Linked DNA regions of Homo sapiens: region 1 is linked to region 2. The links are contacts of gene promoters, found by promoter capture Hi-C in blood cells and fetal thymus (Javierre and others, 2016). All regions are on one chromosome and are shown on one strand. The core of a region is centred on a gene start or on the middle of the fragment in contact, and the rest is flanking DNA. Distances in the headings are between cores, read along the strand shown. Region 1 holds the start of NT5DC4 (5'-nucleotidase domain containing 4). Region 2 holds the start of TTL (tubulin tyrosine ligase).

Evidence for each region. The method cuts DNA at HindIII sites, captures the fragments that hold promoters and counts their contacts. A CHiCAGO score of 5 or more calls a contact.
Region 1: a contact is called between the fragment with the promoter of NT5DC4 here and the fragment with the promoter of TTL in region 2, in 4 of 17 cell types (erythroblasts, M0 macrophages, endothelial precursors and 1 more). The highest score is 6.7, in erythroblasts.

Annotation. Positions count from the first base shown.
Region 1 is chr2:112,719,605-112,722,304 of GRCh38, forward strand. NT5DC4 (5'-nucleotidase domain containing 4) reads left to right here and starts at 1,416. Exons shown (of 17, transcript NM_001393655.1): 1 at 1,416-1,549; 2 at 2,214-2,287; 3 at 2,382-2,499; 4 at 2,579-2,674. The coding sequence starts at 1,476. The HindIII fragment of the contact is 3,072 bases long and covers 1,383-2,700 here.
Region 2 is chr2:112,480,449-112,483,507 of GRCh38, forward strand. It overlaps TTL (tubulin tyrosine ligase), which reads left to right and starts at 1,708. Exons shown (of 7, transcript NM_153712.5): 1 at 1,708-2,053. The coding sequence starts at 1,897. RefSeq lists an enhancer at 1,039-1,108 and silencers at 1,429-1,818, 2,379-2,478. The HindIII fragment of the contact is 5,056 bases long and covers 1-3,059 here.

The DNA of each region.
Region 1 (2,700 bases), core at 166-2,665, 240 kb after region 2:
CCTCCTGAGTAGCTGGGATTACAGGCATGCGCAACCATGCCTGGTTAATCTTGGTATTGTTAGTAGAGATGGGGTTTCACCGTGCTGGCCAGGCTTGTCTCAAACTCCCGACCTAGTGATCTGCCCGCCTTGGCCTCCCAAAGTGCTGGGATTACAGGTGTGAGCCACTGCGCCAGGCCCTTTTCTTTCTTCCTTTCCTTTTCTTCATTTCCTTTCCTTTCCCTTCCTTCCTTCCTTCCCTCCCTCCCTCCCTCCCTCCCTCCTTTCTTTCTCTTTCTTTCTTTCCTTTCTTTCTTTCTTTTTCTTTCTTTCTTTCTTTCTCTTTCTTTCTTTCTTTCTTTCTTTCTTTCTTTCTTTCTTTCTTTCTTTCTTTCTTTCTTTCTTTTTCTTTTCTTTTCTTTTCTTTTCCCTTCCTTCCTTCCTTCCTTCCTTCTTTCTTCCTTTTTCTTTCCCTTTTTATTGACAGGATCTCACTCTGTTGCCCAGCCTGGAGTGCAGCAATCTCGGCTCATTGCAACCTCCAACCCCTGGGTTCAAGCAATTCTCCTGCCTCAGCCTCCCGAGAAGCTGCCAAGAGGCTAATTTTTTTTTTCTCCTGCCTCAGGCTCCCAAGAGGGCAATTTTTTTTTTCTTCGTATTTTTAGTAGAGACAGGGTTTCACCATCTTGGCCAGGCTGGTCTTGATCTCCTGACCACGTATCCACCCACCTTGGCCTCCCAAAGTGCTGGGATTACAGGCGTGAGCCACTGTGCCCAGCCTTGTCTTTCTTTTTAAAAGAGGGCCTGGCACTTCAGTTAAGTCTTTCTGGATGATCCAGGTCACCGCTCCAAATGGAAGTCACATGCTTGGTTGTGGAGCCAGTGGTATGGGCCCTCAGGGAGTATTTAGAACTCTACACTAAATGGCCCCAGTGGTTCTGCTTTTTGACACTTCCTTTTGTACTTTCTGCCACCCCCCCATTCTGAGATCCCAGTTATCTTCCCAATTCTTATAGCCCTTGGCATGCTTCTAGCAATGTCTTCTCTAAATGGCCTTGAGCTGGGAAATTTGATAACCAAATGTGTCAGAATTGTGCATAAAGCAAGAGTACTGAGTTATTTCTTTTATCATGAGTACAGTACGGAGCCTCCTGACTTTGTATCCCGTCATTTGCCTCATTCTGGGTTCTCCGCTACTCTCCAGGCCGCTGAGGTCCATGGATGCATAAGCCCTAGGAATGAGGAGGGTGCAGTGGACATGAATTGCTCTTCCTAGATCCTTGCTGCTTTTGCTCTAGAGAAAAGGATGGGATACCAGAGCCTGTCCTGGCTGACTCCTCCCTCAAAGGGGCTCGGGGGAGATGGGAGCACAGGGTGGGGCCAGCTGGGTCAGTGGTGCCTGAAGCTTCTGAGGGAGAGGAGAGTGGCTGGGCCCCACTGATAGTGTGCAGGAGGCTGAGGAAGGGACACTTGCCTCCTCCTCACTCTGGGTGACGATGGCCAGTGTAGACTGGAGAGAGCCGGAGGGACTGGTCTCCCCTCAAGGCCCGAAGCAGGACTGGCACCAGCGGTGAGATGGGCACCTGGGGTGGGGGCCAGGGGTCTCAGCCCATAAACACCCCACACGCCACAGCAGCACACAGGGGCTCCTTTAAATACACAGCTATGGGGACTCCCAAAATGCAGACGTACACTTGCACTCACAAGGGACGCACTTCCATAGCTGTAACAACCCATCAGGGAACTGACCACACACACTCCGGCGGGAGGTCCTCTTCACTTCCTTCCCTCCACGAAGATCTCTCCCCTTCACCACGGACACAGTGACATGTGCTATCCAATTGTGACAAACACATCATCTCTGAATTTGGACACTGGGGTCCCATTTCAGAAGGTGACAACCCTCACACCAACAACTGCACCTACTTTCTTACAGGGTTGGATGCCTATAACATGCCTGCATGGTGGGACAGCAAGCGGCTGATTGCCCGCACACACTCAGATGCACGCTTGCACACATGCTCACACATGCTTACATGCACACTCACACTTGCCTTCAGACACACATGGGTCCAGGCAGGGCCCTGGCTTGGCCTGACCTGCTTCCCCTGTGCTTTCTGCAGCTGCAGGGGGTGCTCTGCCCTCCTCTGCGGGGTTTCCACCCCCTCTGTCCTTGGGCCTTGGATTCTGGGGGGCTGGTGGACTGATGCCAACATCCTCCTCTCTCTCCCCAGGATTTTTGTCAACCGCAGCCTGGCGCTGGGGAAGATTCGTTGCTTTGGCTTCGACATGGACTACACTCTGGCTGGTAGAGAGGGCTGGAACACAGCGTATTGGGAGCTGGAGGGAGCAGGGGTGGGCAGCTGGGCACCAAAGCCCTGATTCTGTCCGGGCCTCTGCAGCCTACAAGTCCCCAGCTTATGAGGCCCTGACCTTCGAGCTGCTGCTGGAGCGCCTGGTGTGCATTGGGTACCCGCATGAGATCCTGCGCTACACCTACGACCCCACCTTCCCCACCAGGTGTGTGGCTCAGGACAGGTGGGAGGCCACCCGGCCTTGGTACCCCCACCCACAGTGCCCCCCGACCCCCCGTCTGCAGGCGGCTGGTGTTCGATGAACTCTATGGGAACCTGCTGAAGGTGGACGCCCACGGGAATGTGCTGCTGGGTGCCTATGGCTTCACCTTCCTCTCGGAGTAAGGGACAAAGGTGCCGGGAGAGT
Region 2 (3,059 bases), core at 458-2,957:
CAACAGTTTGGGAGGCTGAGGTGGGAGGATGGCTTGAGTTGAGGAGTTCGAGACCAGCCTGGGCAATATGGTGAGACCCTGTCTCAAAAAAAAGTGGGGTGGGGAATAAGTAGTACCGTACAGAACCTACAGCTAAAAGAAACAAAAATGGTGCTCGCTACAAAAAGTGAGAAAAAGGAAAAAGGTAGCTTCTGGATTTGGAAATTCAAAGGTCACTGGTGTTCCTAATGAGATCCACGGTTGTGGAGTGGCAGAGAGAAGCCACCTGTGGCACAGGAGTCGTCAGTAGGAGTCGCAGGAGGAATTGATGCAGCATGGTGGGAGTGGACGTCACTTTCAAGGTGATCAGCCGTGAAGAGCGGCAAACACAGCGTCTTGGCTCGAGTTCCCCCAAACGGTGCCCCCTGGAACAAGAATTTGAGCACGAGTACAGTAGTTTTTTTGGGAGGTGATCCCAGGAAACATCGGTAGTCAGGGAAAGGAAGGAAGCCAACAGAAGATGCCCTGATGAGCAAGTTGCAGCTGTGGACAACCGCAGCCGTGGCCTACAGAGGACCACCGCAATACGCCTAGGACACACGCCTCCCCGCAGGGCACGTGCGGAGGGCGAGAGGGCCAGGGCATTCTCGACCAACTCTATCCCTCGTGGAGGGAGAGCAGCTGGGAAGGAGTGCAAGCACCCAGCACCTCTAAGTCTGCCCCATTTCTGCTCTGAGCGGGCTCTCCACAGCCAGCGGTTGCCTGCAGGTGGAGCCGGTGCGCAAGACAGGCGAGTGAGCGCCTGGCGGCCCCGTGGAATCTGGGCAACGATGGGAAGGAGAAGGGCGCTTTTACAATGTGCTCGGGTAGATACCGTGAGCATCGGGGGACAGGAAGGGGAGAGGCCCCAGGGTGTTCTTTATCTACAGGAGAGTAAAAGATGCAAGGCGCAGGGCTGATGTGGGTAATTTATGAGGGACTGTAGGAAGTTTGGGGGAGCTCTGATGATCATTGCCTTCTCTTTGTATCTCAAATGCAGCAGCACAGTCTTCAGAGTGGGCTATCAGAACCGAAGGGACTTTTAAGAGCCACTCTCCGCCGCTCATAAGGGGAAATCGAGGTCCGGAGAAGGGAAAGCAAGTGGCTGAATGCCGGTAAAAGGCAGGAAAAGAGCGGAGCCCAGGGCTCCAGGGGGTCGGTTTGGGACCTGCTTCCACCAGCAGAGTCTAAGGTCATCCCCTTGGCCGTGCGCCACCCTGGGCTCAGCCGAAGGAAGGAGCACTCGACACAAACAAAACCGACGCTCCGGGTCTCCGTAGTCGTTAAGCAAAGAGGAAGAGGAAGCGCTTCTTCATTAGGCCACAGGACCGGGCCTTAGAACTTTTGGGTTTTATCCATTAAAGGTCCTTTGGCAATAGAAGAAAAACCCAGATCGAGCCCTGCAAACTGGGATCTTCCGCCGGCACCGCCCCCCGGCTGCGACCCGGGGCTCGGAAAGAACCACCCCAGGCCCGGGCTCCGGTTCCACCGCACAGTCCGCCCGCTGCGGTAAAGCCGCGCCCACCGCCGCGGGTCTCCAACCCTGCGCCGCCGCCGCCCCCGGGGGAGGGTACGGAAAGGGCGCGGCGCCGCCGCCCACGGGCTCCTCCAGAGCGCGGCGGGGCCGGGCCGCGCGGAATCACGGGACAGAGGCGGGGCCGCGCCGGCGGGGGCGGGCGTGCGAGCGGCGCTTTCCTCTCCGGCACCCGGCGGGCGCCCGGGCGCGGCGCCGCCGGCACCCGAGAGGCGCGGTAGCCGGCGCGGGCGGCGGGGGCCGGGCCGCGGCGGGCGCCCGGGCGGGGTCCGCGCTGAGCCGCCTTCTCGGCCGCCTGGTCCCTGCGGCGGCTGCCCGGCGGCCCGGGCGCGCGGCGCTTCGCCATGTACACCTTCGTGGTACGCGATGAGAACAGCAGCGTCTACGCCGAGGTCTCCCGGCTGCTCCTCGCCACCGGCCACTGGAAGAGGCTGCGGCGAGACAACCCCAGATTCAACCTGATGCTGGGAGAGAGGAATCGGCTGCCCTTCGGGAGACTGGGTGAGCCCCTCCCCGATTCCCGTCTGCCCTCCTCGGAGCGGCCCTGCGCGCCTCCCGCGGCCCGTTAGAACCGGCGCTTTTGTTTTTAAAGGTCATACATTTTCTCCTCTGTCGCTTGTCGGGCACATCAGAAACGGATTCGGAAAGATCGAAACCTGTCGTTTTTAATGCTTTCTTGTCTCCTAACTTGGATTTAGAGTCGGAGTCGCGGTGCGGCCACTCGGGGCCGCAGCTACCTCCCGACGGTGACCGGTCCCTGCAGCCCGGGAGACGCTGGCCGCCGGGGCTGGGACCTGAGGCGCGAGTCTAGCGGCTCCCCCGGGCCGAAGCCCCCAGATTTGGCGGGTCCGCCGCGCTGGGCGCGGCTCCGCAGAGCGGGCGGCTGGAGTCATCTTTTGCAGCTCGTCTGCACTGAGGATTTCTCCCTGCTTGGCGTGGGCGCGGGCGGGGGAGCCGTAGGTGTTGAAACCCCTGAGGCTTCTGCCCCCCGAAGGCGCGGAGGAGCGATCAGAGGATTTGGAAAAGACCCCCGGATTCCAAAAGCAGGAGCTGCAGAAGAGACCCTAGCCCAGGGAAGTGTGGAGGGATGTCTGATTATAAACCTTTCCTTAGTTTCACCAAATAATGTGTTTTCGCAGTTCTGCATTGGATTAAGATCTTACACGAGGCTGCGTTCGCCCTCCCTGTCTTCCCTGCTCTCCCCGAGGGAATTACCTTCATCCACATGGTTGAAGCTGGCTGGGCACCACCATACCCACATGTCCACGGGTAGGAAAGCGCAGGAGATAGGAGGGGACTAGCGGCTCCTTTGTAAGTGATGTCATCCAGAAGTTGCCCAGATCGGTTCAACTCACATCCTATTGACCTGAGCATAGTCTCATGGCCTCCCTCTCTGCACAGTCATCTGGGAATTGCATCTTCTCTCCGGGGAGCCATGTTCCTTGCCAGAATTCACCAGAGGTGGGGGCCAATTGTATTCCAAAGACAAGGGGAGAATCGATACGGA